Linked DNA regions of Homo sapiens: all the other regions are linked to region 3. Evidence: promoter capture Hi-C in 16 types of primary human blood cells and fetal thymus (Javierre and others, 2016). All regions are on one chromosome and are shown on one strand. The core of a region is centred on a gene start or on the middle of the fragment in contact, and the rest is flanking DNA. Distances in the headings are between cores, read along the strand shown. Region 1 holds the start of COA4 (cytochrome c oxidase assembly factor 4 homolog). Region 2 holds the start of RAB6A (RAB6A, member RAS oncogene family). Region 3 holds the start of LIPT2 (lipoyl(octanoyl) transferase 2).

Region 1 (3,532 bases), core at 91-2,590, 620 kb after region 3:
TATTACTTATCACATTCTGTGTACTAGCAACTAGTCTGTATTTTAGCCCACCTAAATTAAGTAAGGTATAAATTTAGTAAGGTGTAAATTTCTTAAATGCAGAAGGCTATGTTTCATTCATCTTCACCATTGTTTCAATTTGAAAAACCCTTATTAGTAGTAGCAGTTGCCAAATATAGCACTGCTATATTCATCCTGAAGCCTAGAGAAATAACTGGAATAGTATAAGATCAATAAATGTTAGATGAATGAATAGTTTGCTGTGTATTCCTAATTAAGACGTCAGCTTTTCTTCTTTTTTGAGATGAGTATCGCTCTGTCACCCAGGCTGGAGTGCAGTGGTGCAATCTCGGCTCACTGCAACCTCCACCTCCTGGGTTCAACCGATTCTCCTGCCTCAGCCTCCCGAGTAGCTGGGATTATAGGCGCCCACCACCAAGCCCGACTAATTTCTGTATTTTTAGTAGAGACGGAGTTTCACCATGTTGGTCAGGCTGGTCTCGAACTTCTGACCTCAACTGATCCACCAATCTCAGTTTTCCAAAGTGCTGGGATTACAGGCATGAGCCACTGCGCCTGGCCTGGATGTCAGCTTCTTGAAGAGCAGGAACCATCACTTATATTTAGAGTATACATCTGAGCTCCACCAAGCATCCAGTATGGGGCCTGGACACAGTATTAGTTTCCTTAATAGTATCGTCCAGTATGCCTAATATAGCATTAGGGGCCTAGGAGAATACAAAGGTTCCATCACATACACAAAGTGGTGGTGAGTACAGAGACTTCTGGAAGTAACTGACGACTAATCAATATTTGCTAAATGACTGCTTGGCCAAAAGCCTTCCTGCCTCCCAGTATCCCTGTCTTTCTCCAACTCACTGATACTAGTTCTGACGCGGGGATCACACAGCTCATGTGCTCCCTTGGCCTAGGGATAGCTTTTCAGAGAATGACCATACGGGTTTGATACTTCTTTTTCCGGACCCTGTTCCCTCCATATCCCTCGACAATTGACGAAGTAACCCCTATTGATATCCTGGACCAGGCATGGCTCTCCTTGACGCAAAGCAACATCCACTACCCGCCTCCTCTGACTCTGTTCTGGGCCTGGATTCACCTGAGGGCTTGCGCCCAGTCGCTCTGAATCCTCAAAGGCGCCGCCATCTCGACCCCGCCTCCACCAGCCCACCTCTTCCGCCCCTTCCCGGAAGTGAGTCCCCGAGAAGCGTGCGGCGAGGACAGAGGTGGGCTCAACACCAAGAGGCCACCAATGAAAACGTGACTTTTTCACATTCCCCGCCCCTTCCGTGTGCACGCTCCCCACGAGGGGCTGGTTCCTGAAAGGATGTACAGAGGATCCCCAACCGCCTGCGAAACCCAAGCCGCCGCGTAGGAGCGTGCGTTCGGGCCCTCTTCTCCCACCTGTTCGGTGAGCATCGCGTACCGCGTTCTTCAGGAGGCGTTGCGGGCACAACGGGGCTGCGATCAGCGGCCGCGCGCGCGCATGCGTCCTCAAAGTTCAAAGTCCTCGATACGCCTGAGGCGCCTCAGGCCTCGTGGCTGCCAGCATTTTTCTGCTTTAAGATCCTTTCCATGACTTCCTTGTTTAGGCCAGCCTCCACGATCCAGCTGCCAACCATCTAGCCTACCCTGATCTCTGAGCAGGGGTCGTCGTCATTTTACTCCAGAGGAGACTGAAGCCAAAAGGTGGTGAGAGGAGAGTACAGCAGCATTTACTGAGTCCTATAGTAGCCCAAGCGCTTTTCATTCGTTATATTAATCTTCATTCTAATTGTGCGAATTAAATATTATTAATGGGAAAACTAAAATGAAAAAGATTACATAGTAAGGCGTAGTGCTGGGATTTGAACACGGATCTCTTGGTTTAGGATCAAGGCACTTTCTATTCCACTGTTCTTTCTCTAAATTATTTGCTCCTGGCCCTATTTAAAGAGTTAACAGTGTATTTAGGAAGAGAAAACTATCATTTATTGAACTCTTTAGACATACCAGCCTCCTTACAAACCTTACCTTTTTTTTTTTCTTTTTTTTTTTTTTTGAGACAGGGTCTCCCGCTGTAACCCAGGCTGGAATGCAGTGGCGTGATCACGGCTCACAGTGTTGCCCAGGCTGGGCGCAAACCATCCTCCCGCCTCAGCCTCCCAGTGTTGGGATTACAGGCGTGAGCCATGGCACCCGGCTTCATCTCTGTGCTTCCAGAGAGGTTATTAAATGATGTGTCCAAGGGCACCAAATGAGGCAGTGACAAAGCTAGGTCCAAGTCTGTTTCAAAGCCCATTTTCTCCCTCTTGCTTAAGTTATACCGCCTCCAAGGCAAATGAGTTGTGTAAAGTGCCTAACTCCCTCTTGTGATTCCCCATTGCCCTCAGAATAAAAAGTCTTAAACTCCCTACTATGTCCTACAAAGCCTTGTGATGATCACTTACTTATATCGCCAGTTTAATATTGTCTTATTCTCACACTGTATTCTCCCATCACTGAACTTTTTTTTTTTTTTGCTCTCATGTGTCAGATTCTATCTCAACCACCTGCTCTTCCATTGACCAAAAATAGTTTTCCCATCTCTGGCTAACTTCTGTTCCATCTGTCAAGTTTCAGCTTGGAAATCACTTCCTCTAGGAAGCCTTCCCTGCCTATTCCTGCCCTTGTCTGGATTAGGCATCCCTCCACTGTGGTCCCAGTCTTTGCTATCTGTACACTGTGTAGTAAACTGCCCTGTTTCCTTGTCTAGGTTGTAAACTCCATGAAGCCAGGAACTTAACTGACTTAGACAGTCTTGAATCCTCAGCACTAGCATAGTGCCTGGTACATGATAGGTACTTAATCATTTGTTGAGTGAATGAGAGACACAGTTAAGGCAATAAGGAGTCCTAGTTGCTTTACAGCCCATCATGGTGAAATTTTTGCAAAGGCTGAAGTCATTTCTCTTCAAACCTTAAGTTCCTTCTGTATGCTGCTTTCTGCTGAGTGTTCTGATGCAGACGGGCAAGACAGTTTGGGCAAATAAATACACCTCACATTTTTGTATAGTTTACAAAGCCATCTCACCTTATAGACCCAGAGGCCAGGTTTCTGCATACTGTATGCTACAGCCACAGTGAACTCTTTCCATCCTTCCCATGTGTCAAAACCTACCCATATTTGGGCACTCTTTCACTTTGTTTGTTTGTTTGTTTTGGAGATGGAGTCTCACTCTGTCACCCAGGCTGGAGTGCAGTGGCACGATCTTTGGCTCACTACAACCTCCGCCCCTTGGGTTAAAGCGATTCTCCTGCCTGAGCCTCCCGAGTAGCTGGGATTACAGGTGCCTGCCATCACGCCCGCCTAATTTTTGTATTTTTAGTAGAGACGGGGTTTCATCATCCCGGCCAGGCTGGTCTTGAACTTCTGACCTTATGATCCATCTGCCTCGGGCTCCCAAATTGCTGGGATTACATGTGTGAGCCACTGCACCCAGCCTCTTTCACTTTTTAAACTTTGTTCTTCAGCATAGAATAAGGCTAGTAGGATA
Region 2 (3,752 bases), core at 1,046-3,545, 730 kb after region 3:
GGACTGATTCATAAAGTTCTGTAGGAAGTACAAAGTAATTATAGTTCCAATCCTCAGATGTTACTTTAAAGTCTATTTCAGGAAGCATAATGAAAACTTGGTACCCATCAGAAAGAAAATAGCTACTCACTTTTGTTTGCATAATCTTTTTAAAAAGTTTCTTGGTTTAAGCTGCTCTTTGTATGTGCCAGGGTTCTGGGTTAATGGTGGAGAGGACCCTATTAGATCTGACAAACTACTTGTAAAATCAAATGTCCATGCTACAAGCCAGGTTTTTACCATTTTATTTTAGATGCATGTTCTACCTGCACATGGCTGGGAGAGGAACCAGAAGGGAGTAAATTTTGATAGAGATGGTTTGAGGATATAGCTGTTGTCTTGATAGGCCAGAATAGATGATATTTTAAGAACTTTGGTTCTTCCCTGTAATTTATTCTAGGTCAGCAATTCATCCCTGGGCCTGAGAAGGCACTTTTTCAATCCTGTCATTTCTACAGCTAAGCAAATAACTCCCCAATAATGAGAAAAAGTACATAAATGTTTTGTGAATGATATACACAAATGATATACATTTGTGTATAGACACAAATGTAAGGACATATTTTTTATTATTCACTTAGAAAGTTTTTTTGTTTTTTTTTTTTTTTTTTAAGACAGGGACTTGTTCTGTCACCCAGATTTCAGTGTAGTGGTGCCATACCTCAGCCTCCAACTCCTGGACTCAAGCAATCCTTCTGCTTCAGGCTCCTGAGTAGCCGGAACTACAGGAGCACACCACGATATTCGGCTATTTTATTTTTTGTAGAGATAGTGTCTTGCTTTGTTGCCCAGCCTGGTCTCGAACTCCTGGGCTCAAGCGATTCTACCGCCTCGGCCTCCCAAAGTGCTGGGATTACAGACGTGAGCCACCGCGCCCAGCTGCTTTATGGATTTTTTTTTTTGGAGACAGAGTCTCGCTCTTGTTGCCCAGACTGGAGTGCAATGGTGTGACCTTGGCTCACTGCAACCTCCGCCTCCCGTGTTCAAGCGATTCTCCTGCCTCAGCCTCCCAAGTAGCTGGGATTACAGGCACCCGCCACCACACCACGTTAATTTTTTGTATTTTTAGTAGAGATGGGGTTTCATCATGTTGGCCAAGGCTGGTCTGGAACTCCTGACGTCAGGTGATCCACCCAACTCAGCCTTCCAAAGTGCTGGGATTACAGGGATGAGCCACCACGCCCGGCTTTTTTTTTTTTTTTTTTTTTTTTTTTCTGTTGAGATGGAGTCTCGCTCTGTCGCCAGGCTGGAGTGCAGTGGTGTGATCTCGGCTCACTGCAACCTCCGCCTCCCGGGTTCAAGCGATTCTCCTGCCTCAGCTTCCCGAGTAGCTGGGACTACAGGCGCGCGCCACCACCCCCAGCTAATTTTTGCATTTTTAGTAGAGACAGGGTTTCACCATGTTGGCCAGGATGGTCTCGATCTCTTGACCTCGTGATCCACTCGCCTCCGCCTCCCAAAGTGCTGGGATTACAGCCGTGGGCCACCGCGCCCAGCCCGCTTTATGGATTTTGCAAGTCATTTACTCCCTCTAAGCTTCAGTTTCCTCATCTGCAAAATTGGGAGGCCATGATTCTGGCAGTTATAACATTCCTGGGAGCAATGGAGGAGAATGTTATTTAGTAAGATGCCTGTGAGGAATTATGATGAGAGGATGGAGAAGGTGGGGTGTGTGCAATGGTGAAGAAGGGATCTGAGGACTGTGAGGCACGGCTGAGGGCTCAGGAAAGAGGCTCCCATTACAAATTTTAAGGCTATAGGACCCCACCCACACTTTTTGGGGGATCATATTCCACCTTTGTCCCGGCCCCGCCTCCGCCCCACCCTTCTCCCCCTCCCCTTTCTTTCCTTCCCCTCCCCTCAGGCTGAGAGGCGCCACACTTCTTATGGCCGCCACAGTGCTCCGCTTTCCACAGCTCGAGGGCTGCGCGCGCTCTCACGCTGCCACCTCACTCGCGTGTGGGCTCGCCCTCAGCCCCTTCCGATTGGCTCATTATGTAAGTGACGTAAGGGCTCCAGCCTCCCACTAACTTATCCCTGGCTTGCCCCGCCTCCTCCTGGCTTCTTTTGACGCCAGTGGAAACCTAACCTGCCCCGTCGCCGCCGTGCGGGAGGAGCCGGTAGAGCTGTCCAAACCAGGAAGGCGATGGCGATGGCGGTGGCGCGCACGCATGCACGCACGCACGCACGCCAGCGGCCGGCGGGGCCGCAGGCTCGCGCCCGGGCTCGCCCCGCGCCGCTCCAGAGGCTCGCGCACTCAGCAGGTTGGGCTGCGGCGGCGGCGGCAGCTGTGGAAGCTCAGGCGCTGCGCGTGAGAGGTCCCAGATACGTCTGCGGTTCCGGCTCCGCCACCCTCAGCTTCTCTTCCCCAGGTCTGGGAGCCGAGTGCGGAAGGAGGGAACGGCCCTAGCTTTGGGAAGCCAGAGGACACCCCTGGCTCCTGCCGACACCGCCCTCCTTCCCTTCCCAGCCGCGGGCCTCGCTCGGTGCTAGGCTACTCTGCCGGGAGGCGGCGGCGGCTGCCAGTCTGTGGAGAGTCCTGCTGCCCTCCAGCCGGGCTCCTCCACCGGGCCTTGCAGGGGCCGAGAGAGCTCGGTGCCCGCCCTTCCGCTCGCCTTTTTCGTCAGCTGGCTGGAGCAGCATCGGTCCGGGAGGTCTCTAGGCTGAGGCGGCGGCCGCTCCTCTAGTTCCACAATGTCCACGGGCGGAGACTTCGGGAATCCGCTGAGGAAATTCAAGCTGGTGTTCCTGGGGGAGCAAAGCGGTGAGTGCGTGGCTCCCCTACTCCTGGCAGCTGGCCGCAGCGTCCCCGCACCGCCCCCGGTGCGGCCCTTCCGTCCGCGGAGGCTCCCTGCCCGCCTCGCGTCCGCGCTCGTTGCCACCGCAGCCCTTCCCGATGTGCCCCCCGGTGCCACTGGCTCTTCGCCAGTGGCCGAGTTTTTACCCTGTTCCCCGGGTTCTTCAATCCTCGACTCCCCGGCTCCGTTCCCCGCAGTCCGGCCATCTCCGGTCGATCTGCCCTCCCTCCCCAGACCTCACCCCGCCCAGCCTCTTGTCCATCCCTTTCTTCCTCCGGTCTCGGTCATTGCCCGTACCCCGGCCCCCTTTCTTGAGCCCCACCCTTATTCCTTGCTCTTTTCCCAGTTCCTCAGCTCTGTGAGGCCCACTCAGGGAAGCCCCACTCCCGAGAGCGGGCCCTCTTCAACCTTGGCCAAGGAGGGTGGGATCTGGGCGTTGTTTTCCCCAGAGGCTTGGCCCTGCGAAGTGCTGATGTCGTGGAAGGTGGGAAGGGGTGGTAGTAGAAAAAATTAAATGATTTTCACCTGGGTGGGAAATTAGTCTGGGCCATAGAGGAAACATCTGAATTGGAGACGACTTGAGCATGGGGTGGTTGGGGGTGAAAGGGGTAGCGTCGGCAGTGGAGATTTTTGCCCCTTAGGTTAGATGGGGCTGTGGCTTGTCGGAAAACCTCATTTTGTTCTCTTGACTTTCATCACTGACAATTCTTTTGGCAATGTTGATGATTTTTCAATCTCTGCCAGATGCTATGTCATGATCATTTTACTTGGAATTTTTCTCATCTCACCTCCCCTTTTTCTCTTTTCAACATGAAGCAGCGTCTGAGTCTCATGGTGGTACAAAAGGGAATTACTGGGGAAATGTTAATTATTCATTCCTTCTTGAGTATTTTCCAATGATATATTGAGGATTCA
Region 3 (3,417 bases), core at 881-3,380:
AGAAAATGGGCAAAAGACATGAACAGACATTTCACTGAAGGGAATATACACATGGAAGATAAGCACATGAAAAGATGTCTTACATCATTAGTCAATAGGGAAATACAAATTAAAATCACAATAAGACACCACCACACACCTATTAGAATGGCTAAAATAAAAGCTAATGCTCATGAGGATGCAGACAAACTTGATCATTCATACACTGGTGGTGGGTATGTAAAATGGTACAGCCGCTCTGGAAAGCATTTTGGCAGTTTCTTAAAAAACGAAACATGTAACTACCATGCAACCCAGCAACTGCACTCCTGGGCATTTATTCCGGAGAGATGAAAACTTAGTTCACACAAAAACCTGTACACAAATGTTTACAGTACCTTTACTCAGAATATCTGAAAACTGGAAACAACCCAGGTGTTCTTCAGTGAGTGAATGGCTAAACAAACTGTGGTACATTCATACTATGGACTACTACTCATCAATAAAAAGAAACGCGCTATTGATACATGCAACAACTTGGATGAGTCTCCAGATAATTATGCTGAGTGAAAAAAAAATTCTAAAAGGTTGCACTCTGTATGATTCCATCTATACAACACAGACGTTTGCCAGGAATTAAGAAGCAGTGTAACTACAAAGAGCAACATGAGGGATCCTTGTGGTGATGAAAATGTTCTGCATCTTGACTTTATCAATGTCAGTATCCTGGTTGTGATATTGTACTACAGTTTTGCAAGGTGTTTCCATTGGGGGAAGCTGGGTAAAGGGTACATATAATCTGTCCATATTATTCCTTACAACTGCATATGAGTGTCCAATTTTCTCAAATAAAACATTTAATTAAAATAGTACATATGTGATTTCTCTTGTCCAAACCCTGATTGATAATTTGAACCCTTCATCAGACTGGAAAATTTCTCTTCTATTCCTAGATTGCTAAGTATTTTGGTCAGAAGAGGTGTTTATTTTTGCCAATAGATTTATCTGTATTTTTTAACATAATCATAGCTTTTCTTTAAAAAAAATTTTTATTATTTCTTCCAATGAAGGCTTTTCTCTTTTAAGGTAAATTACATTGTTTGATTTCAGAATGCAAAACCAACCTTGCATTCCCGGGATAAACCCTACTTCATCATGATGTATTAATCCTTTTATAAATTGCTGGATTTGATTTGCTAATATTTGCTTAGGATCTTTATGTCTATGTTTATGAAATGTTTTTCAGACACCTATGGTGTCTGAAAAGTCCTCAGTAAAAATTCATTGAATTCAGACTTGTTTAAATGATACTCTAACTGCAACATAGCTGATGTTGTGGTCCAGACACCCCCTCAGGGCCTAGACAGTCATTCCCTCAGCTTCTGGAGTTGGTTACTGATGATACACAACTGAGTCCTTCTCTGGGGGCCGCCCTCCACCGAGGGAAGCAGTCTTGCCAAAAAAAAAAAAAAAAAAAAAATCACAGCTCCTCCCCAGGTGTAGCCTGTATCCATGACTGGTCAATGCAAGGATAAGAGTTTCTGGCCCCCTTGCTTTAATGTGGAACTACTCTGAAGGGTCATCCTAGGCTCCAAGCATGCCTTGGGATTGGTCAAGGCCTCTGCTGCAACTGTTTTGCAGGCCAACTTCTTCCTCTGCCTACAAATTCCTGCTTCCTTCACTTTCTTACAGGTGCTGATCTTTAAGTTCTCCCTACCTCCACCAATAACCTTGTAGGCAAGCTAATCTCCCTCTTGCGTCCCCCAGGGGCTCAACACAGGACACACCACGTTACCCTGTTTTATTTTTCTTTTCATAGCATTTAACACCTTATACGTGAAATAACCTTATTTACTTAACACTTAAAATACTTATCGTCTGCTGTAAGAATGTAAGCTTACCAGGACAGATCTTTCTCATACGCTATGCACCGCTGTATCAAGCGCCTATGGCAGGGCCTGCAGAACACAGCAGGCACTAAATACTGGTTGTTGAATGAACCGATGAGTCTGGCCCCGCGCTTTTGGTCCTGGGATCACATATCCCCCCTCCAGCTTTTAACACGCACCTGGGAGCTGCGGCTCGGGGTGTGCCCCCGAGTCCCCGCCCCTCAGGCCACGCCCCCAGGCCCACGGAGAGGGCGGGGCCCCGCGGACGCAACGGTGGGCACGATGCGGCAACCCGCCGTTCGGTTGGTGCGCCTGGGTCGGGTGCCGTACGCCGAGCTACTGGGGCTGCAGGACCGCTGGCTGCGGCGGCTGCAGGCCGAGCCAGGCATTGAGGCCCCGTCGGGGACTGAGGCGGGCGCGCTCCTGCTCTGCGAGCCCGCGGGGCCCGTGTATACGGCCGGGCTGCGCGGCGGCCTGACGCCCGAGGAAACTGCGCGGCTACGGGCCTTGGGCGCCGAGGTGCGCGTCACAGGCCGCGGTGGCCTGGCCACCTTCCACGGCCCGGGCCAGCTGCTTTGCCACCCGGTACTCGACCTGCGGCGTCTCGGCCTGCGCTTGCGCATGCACGTAGCGTCGCTGGAGGCGTGCGCCGTGCGCCTGTGCGAGCTCCAGGGCCTGCAGGACGCCCGCGCGCGGCCCCCGCCCTACACTGGCGTCTGGCTAGACGATCGCAAGATCTGCGCGATCGGTGAGCGCCGCGGAGCAGGGCGGTACCTGAGAGCCGAGGTCGGAGCTTGAGGCCTGGGGGCGGGGTCTGACGGGGCTGGACCAACGGAGGTGAGGGCCGGGAGGAGGCGTATCTAGCGCGGGTTTTGAATCACAGCTACCCGCTGCGTTTGAGTTTTTAAGCCCCTTTTCAGATATCGTATATTCAGAAGCAGAAGGCTCCTCACATCTAGTCCAACACGCATTTCTGTTAAGGGAGAGACAAGAGAAGTGAATTGCCAGGTTACGTCCTGCGAATGACAATGTCATGGCAAATAAGGGTGCTAATTTTCAAACTTTTTTTTTTTTTTTTTTTTGAGACAGAGTCTCGCTTTGTCACCCAGGCTGGAGTGCAGTGGCGCAATCTCGGCCCACTGCAAGCTCCGCCTCCCGGGTTCACGCCATTCTCCTGCCTCAGCCTCCAGAGTAGCTGGGGCTACAGGCGCCCACCACCAGCCCGGCTAATTTTTTGTATTTTTAGTAGAGATGGGGTTTCACCGTGTTAGCCAGGATGGTCACGATCTCCTGACCTCGTGATCCGCCCGCCTCGGCCTCCCAAAATGCTGGGATTACAGGCGTGAGCCACTGCGCCTGTCCCCAAGCTTTTTTTTTTTTAAGTATTGGAATCTGTTAAAAGACATTTCCTGGAATCCTCATGATGAGTGCAGCTGCTTGAAGCCACGCACCCCTTCCTTTCATTTGTTTCCTTTTCCCATCTGAGTACAATCCCTTGTTTCTCCAGAAACAAAATTTGAAAACCGGTGATCTAATCCAGTTTTCTCAT

What was found. Contacts are between HindIII fragments. The CHiCAGO score rates a contact against its expected background, and 5 or more counts as called.
Region 1: the fragment with the promoter of COA4 here is called in contact with the fragment with the promoter of LIPT2 in region 3 in 2 of 17 cell types (activated CD4 T cells and naive CD4 T cells); the score reaches 5.3 in activated CD4 T cells.
Region 2: the fragment with the promoter of RAB6A here is called in contact with the fragment with the promoter of LIPT2 in region 3 in 5 of 17 cell types (fetal thymus, non-activated CD4 T cells, naive CD4 T cells and 2 more); the score reaches 7.6 in fetal thymus.

The regions. Positions count from the first base shown.
Region 1 is chr11:73,874,654-73,878,185 of GRCh38, reverse strand. It overlaps COA4 (cytochrome c oxidase assembly factor 4 homolog), which reads left to right and starts at 1,340. Exons shown (of 2, transcript NM_016565.3): 1 at 1,340-1,429. It overlaps PAAF1 (proteasomal ATPase associated factor 1), which reads right to left and starts at 1,187. Exons shown (of 12, transcript NM_025155.3): 1 at 1,118-1,187. The coding sequence starts at 1,164. RefSeq lists enhancers at 950-1,019, 1,040-1,089. The HindIII fragment of the contact is 5,366 bases long and covers 1-3,532 here.
Region 2 is chr11:73,759,617-73,763,368 of GRCh38, reverse strand. RAB6A (RAB6A, member RAS oncogene family) reads left to right here and starts at 2,295. Exons shown (of 8, transcript NM_198896.2): 1 at 2,295-2,803. The coding sequence starts at 2,734. LOC124902711 (a long non-coding RNA gene) reads right to left here and starts at 2,211. Exons shown (of 2, transcript XR_007062775.1): 1 at 2,129-2,211; 2 at 269-1,632. RefSeq lists silencers at 1,688-1,877, 2,038-2,347 and an enhancer at 2,644-3,144. The HindIII fragment of the contact is 8,881 bases long and covers 1,578-3,752 here.
Region 3 is chr11:74,492,437-74,495,853 of GRCh38, reverse strand. LIPT2 (lipoyl(octanoyl) transferase 2) reads left to right here and starts at 2,130. Exons shown (of 2, transcript NM_001144869.3): 1 at 2,130-2,616. The coding sequence starts at 2,151. It overlaps LIPT2-AS1 (LIPT2 antisense RNA 1), which reads right to left and starts at 2,474. Exons shown (of 2, transcript NR_171028.1): 1 at 1,881-2,474. RefSeq lists silencers at 1,895-2,144, 2,255-2,364. The HindIII fragment of the contact is 1,360 bases long and covers 1,878-3,237 here.